Regions from separate parts of the Homo sapiens genome. Here region 2 is linked to region 1. The links are contacts of gene promoters, found by promoter capture Hi-C in blood cells and fetal thymus (Javierre and others, 2016). All regions are on one chromosome and are shown on one strand. The core of a region is centred on a gene start or on the middle of the fragment in contact, and the rest is flanking DNA. Distances in the headings are between cores, read along the strand shown. Region 1 holds the start of BACE1 (beta-secretase 1). Region 2 holds the start of ATP5MG (ATP synthase membrane subunit g).

Region 1 (6,774 bases), core at 2,122-4,621:
ATAGTACACACTGCTGAAATATTGTTGTTTTTGTTGGAAAGGGTCCTAGAAATGCCATTGCCCAAAGAGTTTGCATTTTTAACATATTAATAGGCATTGCAAATTACTCTCCAAAAATGGAATAATTTACAGTCCAAACAATACCTTCACCAATACCAAATGTTACCAATCTGAGAGGAGACGAAAGAAAGAAAAAGGAACAAAGAATCTACTGTTTTACTTTGTGTTCTTTCAACTATTAACGAAGTTAAGCTTTTTTCAAGGTTTTTTATGTTTATCATCCATTTGAATTTCCTCTGTGAATTAACTGTTCACATTCTTTGTTCATTTTTCTTTTTCTTTTCTTTTTTGTGTTTTGTTGTTGTTTTTCCTCACTCTTTCCCCTTACCCTTTGTTCATTTTTCTATCAGGTTGTTTGGGATTTATATTGATTTGTAGAAGCTCTTTGCACATTATAAACATTAGCCCTTTGTCTCTATTGTGTGATAAATGTTGTTTCTTAATCTGTGACTGATCTTTTAACTTTGTAAATGTCAGTTTTCTCAGTAGTTGCAACAGTAATAATCCTAATAGCTGACCTTTATTGAGCACTTACAATATGCTGGACACCATTCTAAATGCTTTACATGGATTGTCTCATCGAATTCTTACCTTTTGAGGTTTGAACTATTAATATCATTATCTCCATTTTACAAATGATAAAATCAAGTCTCAAAAAGGGGCCAGGCAAGTTGGCTCACGCCTGTAATCTCATCACTTTGGGAGGCTGAGGCAGGCAGATAACTTGAGGTAAGGAGTTAGAGACCAGCCTGGCTAACATGGTGAATTCCCGTCTCCACTAAAAATACAAAAATTAGCTGGGCGTGCTGGCGCGTGCCCGTAGTCCCAGCTACTTGGGAGGCTGAGGCAGGAGAATCGCTTGAGGAGGCAGAGGTTTCAGTGAGCTGAGATCATGCCACTGCATTCCAGCCTGGGTGACAGAGGGAGACTCCGTCTCAAAAAAAAAAAAAATTAGCCAGGCATGGTGGTGTGCGCTTGTAATCCCAGCTACTCAGGAGGCTGAGGCACAAGAATCGCTTGAACCCAGGAGGAGGAGGTTGCAGTGAGCTGAGATGAAGCCACTGCACTCCAGCCTGGGTGATAAAGTGAGACTGTTTCAAAAAAAAAAAAAAGGACTCAAAAAGTAAGTAACCAGAGTGGGCTCTCCCAGTTACTAATTGAACCAGAATTAGAACACTGGTGGTATTGGAATACTTCTGATTCTACAGAAGTTTTAAATATTTAAGTCATCAAATCCATCCAGTTTTTGGGTTTGTTTACCTTCTAGGGTTTGTTAGGGAGGTCTTCTTCAATATAAGATCATGAAAATATTCTATTTTTCCTGTAGTTTTATTTTAATGTTAAATTCTTTAATCTATCTGGAGTTTATTTTCAGAGGAATGAAATTGGATTTGGTTTTTTTTCCTTCCAAATGGGCTGCCAGACGTCCCAACAACAGTTTTTGAATAATGCGTCCATTTTCCTCTAATACGAATGCCATCTCTATCATATCTACAATTCCCATAGATACATTTCTCTATTTTGATTTCGATTTTTTTAACTTGTGTCTAATCATCTTATTGATTAGGGTTTTCTATCCATATCATATAATCTGCAACTAATGATTCCTTTGCTTTCCAACATATATAACACTTTTTCCATTTTCTTGTCTTTTGAGTCAATCAGACCGGTCTGAACCGTGTAGGATAAGAGTAGAGATAATGATCGGCCGGGCGCGGTGGCTCACGCCTGTAATCCCAGCACTTTGGGAGGCCGAGGCGGGAGGATCACGAGGTCAGGAGATCGAGACCATCTTGGCTAACACGGTGAAACCCCGTCTCTACTAAAAATACAAAAAATTAGCGGGGCGTGGTTGCAGGCGCCTGTAGTCCCAGCTATTCGGGAGGCTGAGGCAGGAGAATAGCCTGAACCCGGGAGGCAGAGCTTGCAGTGAGCTGAGATCCCACCACTGCACTCCAGCCTGGGCGACAAAGCGAGACGCCTTCTCAAAAAAAAAAAAAAAAAGAGTAGAGATAATGATCTTTCCTTTCCAAAGCCTGCCTTTAATGGGAGTAACGTAGCCTGTTATTACTACATTTGTTGTTGTTGTCGTTATCTTGTTTAAAAAGTTTCCTGGCTGGGTACAGTGGTCCATGCCTATAATCCCAGCATTTTGGGAGGCCGACGTGGGCGGATCACTTGAGGCCAGGAGTTCGAGACCAGCCTGGCCAACATGGTGAAATCCCATCTCTACTAAAAATACAAAAATTAGCTGGGTATGGTGGCGCATGCTTGTAATCCCAGCTACTCAGAGGCTGAGGCATGAGAACTGCTTGAACCCGGGAGGCGGAGGTTGCAGACTTGAGACCATGCCACTGCACTCCAGCCTGGGTGACAGAGCAAGTCTCCTTTTCAAAAGAAAAATGAAGATTCCCTTTCATTTTTTAAAAAAATTAAATCAGAGTAACTGCTGAATTTTATCAATGGCTTTCCACATTTGATAAACAATATATTGTTAAAACCATACCGGCTTTTCTCCTTTAAGCTATTAGAACTCTAACGCTTTTGGTTCAAGGCTTTAAGCTCTTACCAGTTAATATAGAGATACTTTTCGGAGTGTTAACACTTTAAAGCTATCAACAGCCATTTCTCCTCAGTCTGGCTGATGGTGCAGAAAATCAGAGGAGCCATAAGGATTCAAGTAGAGCCTCAAGGGCACAAACAGGTTCAGATGGGAGAAGACCCACTGGCTCTTACCTGCCCGCAGATCGCAGGCGCAGGAGAAAATAAGACAACTGCACTTTCCCCTTTTGGACCCTGCTCCGCTGGTTTGCAGCCTGGAAAAACTCTTCCTCCCCTTTCATCCTGCTCCCTCAATCTCTGCTCGTGAAAATCCTACCCATTTTTAAACGCTCAAATTAAATACCACCTTCTCCCACTGAGTCTTCCCAGATCCCCTAGATGTCCCTCCAAATCCCTACTCCTTAATGCCACATCGTATAGTGTGAAACCCCACCGCGGCAGGAATCACTTAACTGTCCCGTGTAGAATCACCGTTTATTTCTCTCTGTATCTCCAGCGCCTGGCAGTGTGCCTGGCATACAGTGGGTGCTCCTTCCATGCTGAAAGAAAGACTGACAGACGGGAGGTGTGCCCCTCTCCATCCGTCTGGCCCTTCCCGCCAGGGCCTTGCAGGGCGGACTCCACCTCGGCAGAGGGCATCCCAGACCCCTCTCCAGCCCCGGAAGCCGGATTGCCTGCCATGGGAAGACTACACTTCCCAGCGATCCCAGGGAAAAGCGAAAACCTTTTGGCTTTGACAGCCGCCGCCACAAGTCTTTCCGCCTCCCCAGCCCGCCCGGGAGCTGCGAGCCGCGAGCTGGATTATGGTGGCCTGAGCAGCCAACGCAGCCGCAGGAGCCCGGAGCCCTTGCCCCTGCCCGCGCCGCCGCCCGCCGGGGGGACCAGGGAAGCCGCCACCGGCCCGCCATGCCCGCCCCTCCCAGCCCCGCCGGGAGCCCGCGCCCGCTGCCCAGGCTGGCCGCCGCCGTGCCGATGTAGCGGGCTCCGGATCCCAGCCTCTCCCCTGCTCCCGTGCTCTGCGGATCTCCCCTGACCGCTCTCCACAGCCCGGACCCGGGGGCTGGCCCAGGGCCCTGCAGGCCCTGGCGTCCTGATGCCCCCAAGCTCCCTCTCCTGAGAAGCCACCAGCACCACCCAGACTTGGGGGCAGGCGCCAGGGACGGACGTGGGCCAGTGCGAGCCCAGAGGGCCCGAAGGCCGGGGCCCACCATGGCCCAAGCCCTGCCCTGGCTCCTGCTGTGGATGGGCGCGGGAGTGCTGCCTGCCCACGGCACCCAGCACGGCATCCGGCTGCCCCTGCGCAGCGGCCTGGGGGGCGCCCCCCTGGGGCTGCGGCTGCCCCGGGAGACCGACGAAGAGCCCGAGGAGCCCGGCCGGAGGGGCAGCTTTGTGGAGATGGTGGACAACCTGAGGGGCAAGTCGGGGCAGGGCTACTACGTGGAGATGACCGTGGGCAGCCCCCCGCAGACGGTAAGGTGGTCAGGCCAGCCCTTAGCCCTCCGCCTGCATGAGCAGAGGGGAGACAGGATGGGGATGCCTCAAGCTAGCCCCTGCTCAAATGGGCTGGTGGGGACAGCAGGAGGGACCCCTCCCCAGCCATTCCCCGGGGGTCACGTGGTTGTTGGCAGAAGTGTTCCCAAGCTCCCCATTCCCTCCTCGTCTCCCCTGGCTGCCTAGTTCCCCTTGCTCCTCATCTGACACATACGCCGTCTGGAAGGATTTGAGGCAAGACAGACACATCAGCTGGGGACCCTGACCTGGAGGAAGGGTCCGCCACAGGGGCACTATAACAGGTGTCAGCCCCCTCTGACAGTGGCCCAGTCCGAGTCTCCCAAATCCCACCACTCTAGAGGTTGGCCACCCAACCTTGTCCCCTCCTCTGATTCCCACCATTGTTCCCAGTACCTCCAGGACCAAGGAATCCTGGCAGCAGTTGAATAAGCACCTTGCTCCCACCATCTGGGCTGCCACTGGTACGGCAAAGTGAGGTTGTCGAGGCCCCCCTGACTGCACTCCGCCCGGAAGCCCTGGACAGGCTCCTGCCGTCCCCTCCTCCTCCCCTTCTCCCTCTCGCGGTCTACACTCCGGCCCCTCCCCCACCCCACACCTCCCCAGGCCAGAGGGGAACTGAACTGAGCCTGGTGAAAGAACAAATGGTAGGAAAGGAGCCAGAGCTCCCTTTTAAGAGTGGGACTCCTTCCATGGCGGGGGAGAGGGGAGTTACAGAGAAAACACTGTTATGCCCTCCCCATCCTTCCTGACAATCTCCAAGGTACCTTCAAGGTGGCTGGTGGAGGTGGCACCCTCTGCACCTCTGTGGGTGAGCAGCCCTCCATGTGGGGTGCTGTGGCTGACCTCTGTGTGCATCTGCCGCCTCTGTGGGGCAGTCCGGGCCCGGGCAGCCCTGTGGTTCTGTGTATGCTGGTGCGTGTCACCTTGAATCTGATCCTGCACATCTGTGAGCCACCTCCGGATCTGTGTCTGGGAAGTCTGTCCTTGGGAGGGTCTGTGAAGGTGGGAGTGTGTTTGGGGTGGGCGGAGGGGACAGCCACACTTTCCTGAACTTCTCAGACAGCTGGATCTGGGAGAAACACAAACCCCCACCTCCCAATTACTTTACAGAAGCCAGCCTTCCTAGGTGCGTGCTCCCCAGCCCTACCTCTCAGCTAGTCGAAAGCCTGGTCTTCCCCACTTTCTCATCCTCTTTCCTGTGCACCATAACTTCCCCAGCAGTAGTCTCCAGTGGGAATTTGGGAGGGCAGGACAGAAGCCAAATCCAGGCCCTGAGCAAACAGAACGCTAGATGATATCGTCAGGGAGCAGCAGGTATGCAGAGACCTGGGACCTACTCCTGTTTCTGCGACTGACATGCTGTGCACACTGTGCATGGACCCCATGGCACGATGCAGGACGGGGCTGCAGAACCCACACAAGCTTTGAGGTCAGACAGTCCACGAATCCCAGCTCTACCACCCACAGCTTTTCCTCTTCTCAGCTGTGTGGCCTTGGGCAAATTGCATAACCTCTCTGAAACTACTGTCATATCTTTAAAATGAGTAGGAAATGAGACCTCCTTTGCAAGGTAATTGTGAGGATTAAGTTGTGAGGGTTAATTGTTCTAGGTGCTTTCACCCAGAACAATACACCAGCATATAAAACTGACCTCCAACAAATATGAAGTCACTTTATCCTTGTCTGGCCTGTTCTGCCTCTTCAATTCTATGCAATGAGGCATAAAAACTCGGATGTCCTGGGCCTCCACGTTTTACATGTATAAAACTGGGGTATCCTGTAATCCCAGCACTTTGGGGGGCCAAGGTGGGCAGATCACCTGAGGTCAGGAGTTCGAGACCAGCTTGGCTAACATAGCAAAACCCTGTTTCTACTAAAAATACAAAAATAATTCGCCGGGCCTGGTGGCATGCACCTGTAATCCCAGCTACTCAGGAGGCTGAGGCAGGAGAATCGCTTGAACCTGGGAGGCGGAGGTTGCAGTGAGACAAGATCGCACCATTGCCCTCCAGCCTGGGCAACAAGAGCAAAACTCTGTCTCAGAAAAAATAAAAACAAAAACAAAAACGGGGTATCCATTGCTGTACTTCCCTGATCCCCTGAAATAATGCATACATCCTGCAGCCCAGTACTTAGCAGAGAGTAATTGCTCAATAAATGTCAGTTCCTTCCTCGTTCCTTTCTAGAAGAGGAAAGTGGGCTTAAAGTTCAACACCAGTCCAGGAAGCTAGTGCCAGGGAGCCCACAACTAAAGCAACTGTGTGGCTTGCACTATGATTTCTAACTAAGCCTGCATCAGCCAGTCTCTGCTCTCTGGTGGCTTGGACTCTCTCCCCATCTGTCTGTAAGAAGGACGCCCTTTCTTCCTACCTGGCGCGGCTGTTGTAAGTGCCAAATGAGAACTTGGATGGCATTGTATTCTGAACAAGAAAAAGTAAAATTTGGGGAGCACTTTCTCTGTGCTAGGCAATTAATTGGTGGTGCCTGGGGGCTGATCCACAAAGAGACAAGAAGACATGTTTTCTGCCCACATAGAGTTACAGTGGAAGTGAAAGGGCGGAAGTGACGAGTACAAGGTCATCCATGCAGATATACTCAAAGCGAGGTCGGCAAACCCTCATTGGAGTCAGCTAAAAATGT
Region 2 (6,774 bases), core at 3,036-5,535, 1.1 Mb before region 1:
ACTCTGTTTCAAAAATTACAAGAGAAACGTAATAAAAATAGCATGAAAGCCCATAAAGTGTCTACTGTTCAAAGACAGATTACCCAAGGCTCTTGGTGTTTTCCTCATATTAACGGCCTCCATTTGAGTATTTCTGAATTACTATCTCCCTCATCTTCTGTGTTTGGGGATATGGGCATACCTTTAAGCAGACACAAAGCTCTAAGAGATAGTTCCAAACAGAACTGCCAATGCCTGAAAGATGGGACAATAAAAAAAAAGCACAATCTTGTATAAGTCAATCAATTGTCAATATTATCTCCAACACACAGACATTTCATCCTTAAAAAAAAAATGAATCAGTATACTGTACATAAACAATATTTTAGGTGGTAAATTTGTTTCTTAGGGGATACAGGTTAGAGTTTGAAACTGCTTTACATGTATACAAGAGATAAAACATAATGAATGGTAGATAATGGGAGCTAGATTTCTCAGTGGAGGTTGAGTGATGTTACAGGTAAACAAGAAAAGCAGCAAGAATAAATCCCACAGTACTGGGTTAGAGTTGGACTCAGGTTTAGCTTAATATATACACAGACTGACAGACACAGAAATAATTATATATACATATATGCATGTATATACATGGCTTAGTATGCATGTATATACACATACACACATCTATACTGATACATATCTATATTCCTGTCAAATGAGAGGACCTAGAAGTAGTGATATTCTGGTAGCAAGGAACATAAACAGCACCCAGACCTTAGTTTCTCAATTCTATTGTCCAATAAAAGGAACTAAGGTTCCTTGGAGAAATGGCTGATTCTAGGGCTGGGACAGGGAAAATACAATATAAATCTGAAGCATCTTGTAGTATCAGAAAGGGAGGCGGTATGTCAAAGGGACAGAGGTGCTAACCTGAAAGAGCTCCCAAATAGCCAAGGCTGAAATAATTTGAGCAATAATACAGTATTTGATACAGAAAGTATGAAATCAATGTACAAGTCCATACAATAAGTGACTGGATAAATAAATGGAGAAGAGACAAATCTTTCTCACAGAAAAATTCTATTTATGTAGATATTCCCTCCTACAGGGGATGGAATCCCCCCACTGTAATCACACCTTGCCTTTATGGGATAGGCTTAGTTATTTGCTTCTATAGAATAGAACACGGAGAGAAAAACAGTAACTTTACAGTAGAGGAACCTATAACCAAGTGATGAAAGCTTGTATCACCAGAGATGTCACAGGAATATCATATACCTCCTGACATGTGATTAGGGCATCTCTTCACTGTGGTATTTCCTCAAAATCCATAGTGCCAAACTAAGCATGAGAAAAACACCAGACAAATCCAGATTGAGGAAATTCTTCAGGATACCTAGACAGATACTTTGACAAGACAGATACCTAGACAGACAAGATACCTAGATACCTTAAAACTGTCAAGGTCAGGAAAGATGAGGGAAGACTGGGAAACTGTCCCAGACCAGAGGAGATTGGGAAGACATAGAAACTAAATGCAATGTGGTACACTGGATTGGATCCCGGAACTGAAAGATTATTGGAAAAACTATTGAAATACAAATAAAGTCTACAGTTAAGGGAAAAAAAAATCAGATTCTATGATCTTCCTAGGCAAACCTGATGATAAATTTACTTATTTCCATAAGCTTTTTTGACCCCCAGGGGAATTAACAGATATAGTCAGTAATTTTTATTAAATATTTAACATTCACATTTAATACACTAGCCTATGTATGTTATAAAGCAAAATGTATTTCCACGTTAACATTCCAGCCCAGTTGAGTCCTCCTTTCTAAGTACTTTTGGAAGAATAACAAGTTATCTTTCAATTATTTACAACGGAGGGAAGGGTTCATATTATATATTTCATAACAAAAAAATTACCTTGGTGTTACTTTTCTTTTTAGATCACAAAAATTAGTTTGCAATTCCTTAATATGCGCCACCTAAAAAATGTGAAAGCCACACCAGAAAAAAAATCCACTTGAAATATTAAGAATTGTGCCTTAAATCACCCACAAAGTCCAGAGTGAAGCCTCTAATCCTTTTTTCTCTTTAGTTTTTTTTTTTTTTTTTTTTAGACGGAGTCTCGCTCTGTCGCCAGGCTGGAGTGCAGTGGCGCAATCTTGGCTCACTGCAACCTCCGCCTCCTGGGTTAAAGAGATTTTCCTGCCTCAGCTTCCCGAGTAGCTGGGATTATAGGCGCCTGCCACCATGCCCGGCTAATTTCTGTTTTAGTAGAGACGAGGTTTCACCATATTAGTGAGGCTGGTGTCTAACTCCTGACCTCAGGTAATCCACCTGCCTTGGCCTCCCAAAGTGCTGGGATTACAGGCGTGAGCCACAGTGTCCAGCATTATTATTTTTTTTTTTTGAGACCTAGCCTCGCTTCGTCGCCCAGGCTGGAATGCAGTGGTGCAATCCTGACTCACTGCAACCTCCGCCTCCGGGGTTCAAGCGATTCTCCTGCCTCAGCCTCCCAAGTAGCTGCGATTACAGACATGCACCACCAAGCCTGCCTAATTTTTGTATTTTTTGTAGAGATGGGGTTTCACTATGTTGGCCAGGCTGGTCTCGAACTCCTGCCCTCAAGTGATCTGCCCGCCTTGGCCTCCCAAAGTGCTGAGATTACAGGCGTAAGCTACCGCCGCAGGGCCATCTCTTTTGATTTATATAAAATTGTAGAGCTCTATGACAGGTATCTTAACAATCTTAGTAAAGTAAAAGATTTTCTTGCAAGCTTATGAAATTATTTGGGAAAATGTGTAAAATGTTTCACTAGTAGGCTGTGAGGTTCTGCAGGACAGCCTTCAATAACTCATAGTTTGGCTGGTGATGGAGGGAAGGGAGGAGAGAATGGATAAATTACCCGGCTGGCGCTGTGGCTCACACCTGTAACTCTGGCACTTTAGGAGACCGAGGCGGGAGGATCCCTTGAGCCCAGGAGTTAAGAGACTAGCCTGGGCAACATGGTGAAATCCCGTCTCTTAAAACATACAAAAATTAGCTGGGTGTGGTGGTGCGTGCCTGTGATCCCAGCTACTCAGGAGGCTGAGGTGGGAGGATCGCTTGAGCCTAGGAGGTGGAGGCTGCAGTGAGCTGTGATCTGCACTGCACTCCAGCCTGGGCGACAGAGTGAGTCCCTGTCTTCTAGGAAAAAAAAAAAAAAAAAAGAAAGAAAGAAAAAGAAAATACCCAAACCAAACTCAAACACAGCAAAATAGGCTAGAAAGTATTACATTTTTTTTGAAGTTCTGCTTTCTATTCACATTTCATAAACGTAGGCAAAAGTTAAGAGATCCGACCTTCAGTCACTTACTGGAATACAGCACATCTAGGAAAAACTTACGTCAATTTAGCTTATCTCACTTCAGGAATAAAATGAATAGCTTGCCACTGAGAAGACAACTGAAATATTTACTGGCCAAATAAACTAGTACTCAGAGGCTGTGATTATTCAGGGTTGTTGTGAAATACAGCGGTCTACCAGTGAGGCTCTTCAAGCTGAAAAAATTCCACGAATGCTAAGCTTCGTAACAAAGATTATTGTTTATACGGATCCCGTCCTATGCTTCTCGGGGCATGGATACTCATCCATGAAGTCCATTTCCACCTAAAATTTCCCTCGGATTAAAGCGGAAGTATCTTAGAATCCGTCTAGGACAGAAAGCAAAGTCAACGTTCAAAAAAGCTCACCCATCCTTAAACATTTCTGTTGACTTCCAAATACTCCACTGAGAACAACACCACATGTAATGAGGCCGAATTGATTTACTTTCACGTTTCTGCCCTTCCTTTTCTTAGCTCTCCTAACAGAACCATCCCCTCTAGATCCCTGCTCTTAGCGATCTCAGGGGGCGTAATGGTTGCAGCTGCCGGGCAACGCCGGGCTTCCTTCACACTACCTCTCTTCCCAGTCGTGGTTAGAATTCAGGAACTTCTAGGTTGTGTAGAGAACCCAATCTGCAGGTCAGACGAGTGGAAGGCTAGAAAAGAGTCGCCAACCTGCTTCCTGCTCCCTCCACCTGCAGGCCATCCCGCCCCGGCACCCGCAGGCCCCTCGGGTCTTCGCAGCCCGCTTCTTCCTCTCAGGCCATCGCAGGCCTCCCTGCCGCCCGTGTGCCCGCCTCGGCGGTCTCACATCGCGCTCACCGTTCACCAGCGCCGGGGTCTTCTCCACAAGGTTACGGACAAATTGGGCCATGGTTCTGGAATGGAGAGTCCGTCGCCCCGAACCGCCGGCTGAATGTCACCCGCCGGAAGGACCCGCTGCAGGACCCCGTCCCACTTCCAAGGTCAGGCCGCCTCTTTTCGCGCCGGTCGAAGATACTTAAATGTCCAAAGATCTTTGCAGAATCCAGCCTGTCAATTTAATTTTTCAACATGGAAGAGAAAGTGGATATGAAAAGATGGTATTAGAGAGCATGTGAAGAACAGTAGGATTCCGCAGAGAAGCAGGCATTTTGTGGGGCAGCCACTCGTAGAGGTCCGGAAAACCGGCAAGGAGCGGAAATGCGCATGCGCCCTGAACCTGCAGTGCTTTTCTTGGCGCCGACCTCCGCTATTTTGCGTAGGGTGCTTTCGCCGCGATTCTGAGAACCTTTGAAGTCAGTACTGGAGAAGGATTCGCTGAGATTCTTCTAGTCCAACACGATCGTTGTACAGAGGTAGAGAGGGTCCAAGGCCAAACATATAAAGTTAGGGGCCGAGCAATCACCACACAGGCTGTCACCAGGCTCAACCCATAGCCCTTTTTATTTGAGACAGTCTCGCTCTGTCGCCCAGGCTGAAGTGCAGTGGCACGACTTCGGCTCACTGCAACCTCTGTCCCCCGGGTTCCAGCGATTGTTGTGCCTCAGTCTCCCTAGTAGATGGGACTACAGGCGCCCGCCACCACGCCTGGCTAATTTTTGTACTTTTAGTAGAGACGGTGTTTCACCATGTTGGCCAGGCTGGTCTCGAACTCCTAGCTTCAAGTGATCCACCCGCCTTGGTGCTGGGATTACAGGCGTGAATCACCGCGCCTGGCCCCATAGCCCTTTTAAAGTTGATTTTTTGTAATCCCAATCTCCCCAAAGTGCTGTATCACGATTGGAATCCATTTCCCCTAATTCCCTAGTTAACCACAAGGAGCTGTGCAGATGTGAGGAAAAAATCACCTGTATTGAACGCCCACACTATGCCAGGCATTTTGGAATTTAAAGAAAGCCTGTAAGGCATTGTCCCCATTGAGACTGGGCTTGAAAAATGGCCACACAGTTTGGAAGTGGCAGAGTTGAGATCTGAAGTTGCAATGTATACTCAGAGAGGGGGCATTCCATCAGATTAGGCATGGTGCTGATTTCAGCATACTTCCTAGAAAAGATCCTTGAGCCGATGTGTAAGAGAACAGCTGTATACTACAGAGGGCTGAAACTTCATAGTTTAATATGAGGAGGAAAAGATGTATGTAGGGAAGTGGCATTTGATGAGAGGAACAGAACTATAAGTAATGTAACCTGGGGAAGTCTGAGCAGAAGTAAATCTCCGATTTTTGGAATGGTTAGAGAGATGGAAAGAAAAATTAGAAGTGTAATCAAGGAACTAAGAACTTTTCAATGAAGGAGTGATTCTGCTGCCCTAGATACTGCAGAAAAGTCAAATTAAGGATGGGAAAGTTAATTTAGCAATATGGCAATCTTTAACTAACTAGCGCCTTTTCAAAAAATTAGGATAGAATCCAGGGTGAATGGTGAAGAAATATGGCTGTAAAGGATTACAAGTCAGAAAACCAAAGGGGGATGTGGAACTCAGGGGAGAAATTGAAGACAGAGAAGAGGCAGTCATTTATTTATTTAGAGATGGGGTCTTGCCACATTGCCCAGGCTGGCCTGAAACTCCTGGCCTCAAGAGATCATCCCACTTCAGCCTCTTGCTTAGCTCTGGGATTACAGGCACAGGCCATCCTGCCTGATAAAAAGGGATATTGACAAGAGCCCTGATGAGGCAGGAAAAGAGAACTAGCCAGGGATCTATGGGGCCTTTTCCACAGATGTGATTATGGGAGAGAGGTCTGAAAGTCTTCAAAGTCTCTGAAGTCTTTATCTTCCCAGCAAAATGAAGGCAAAGTCATCGGACTGTGAGGGGTCAATGGGAGGGGGGTATGAGAAGGAATTTGAGGAAGGAGGCCAAAGTTTGGAATAGCTGAAGGACACACAGAAGGGTTGTTGGGCAACGTTAGAGATAAGTTTGTGGTTGTACCATTCTAAAAATTGTGTTTTTCCTCCAACAATGGTCTGCAGTTTGGATATTACAGCAGAGGGGAATGGCTGAGTTAATCTAGGCTGACATCTTGCATGGCAGGGGTATGGAAACAAGGAGCAAGAAAGGGGAAGATAACAGCAAATGATTACAAAGACCTGGGGTTCAGGCCAGATAAAGAAAAACAGTGAAGCCAAAAGAGAGCTGGTTAGGAAAACCATACTGTGAGATTCATCTCCTGAGGGTAACCCCAGGGTCCCCTCCAGAGGCCTGGTAAGGCAGGCTGGGTCAGCCAGGTCACACATATTTGATGTTACTTACCTAAAAAAAAAGTGAAACGTCAGAATCCTCTAAGTTTTCAGGGGGATTTCTGAAACTGCCACTAGCTTTTAATACTGGAATAAAGTGATAACAAAGGTTGTAAGTCAGATGTTCATTTATTAAATACAAGTTTTGAACAAACACTGCCAGGCAAGTTTGACAAGAAGTAACCTTCCTGGAATGTTTCAAAAT

The links. The method cuts DNA at HindIII sites, captures the fragments that hold promoters and counts their contacts. A CHiCAGO score of 5 or more calls a contact.
Region 2: a contact is called between the fragment with the promoter of ATP5MG here and the fragment with the promoter of BACE1 in region 1, in 1 of 17 cell types (monocytes). The highest score is 6.2, in monocytes.

Annotation. Positions count from the first base shown.
Region 1 is chr11:117,312,853-117,319,626 of GRCh38, reverse strand. BACE1 (beta-secretase 1) reads left to right here and starts at 3,371. Exons shown (of 9, transcript NM_012104.6): 1 at 3,371-4,092. The coding sequence starts at 3,832. RefSeq lists silencers at 3,643-3,732, 3,823-3,932 and enhancers at 4,461-4,982, 4,983-5,505. The HindIII fragment of the contact is 5,304 bases long and covers 255-5,558 here.
Region 2 is chr11:118,399,117-118,405,890 of GRCh38, reverse strand. ATP5MG (ATP synthase membrane subunit g) reads right to left here and starts at 4,285. Exons shown (of 3, transcript NM_006476.5): 1 at 4,174-4,285. The coding sequence starts at 4,225. All of the region lies in intron 3 of LOC100131626 (a long non-coding RNA gene), which reads left to right. It overlaps UBE4A (ubiquitination factor E4A), which reads right to left. Exons shown (of 20, transcript NM_001204077.2): 20 at 6,680-6,774. RefSeq lists enhancers at 2,512-3,102, 3,561-4,424, 4,545-4,624. The HindIII fragment of the contact is 3,431 bases long and covers 3,553-6,774 here.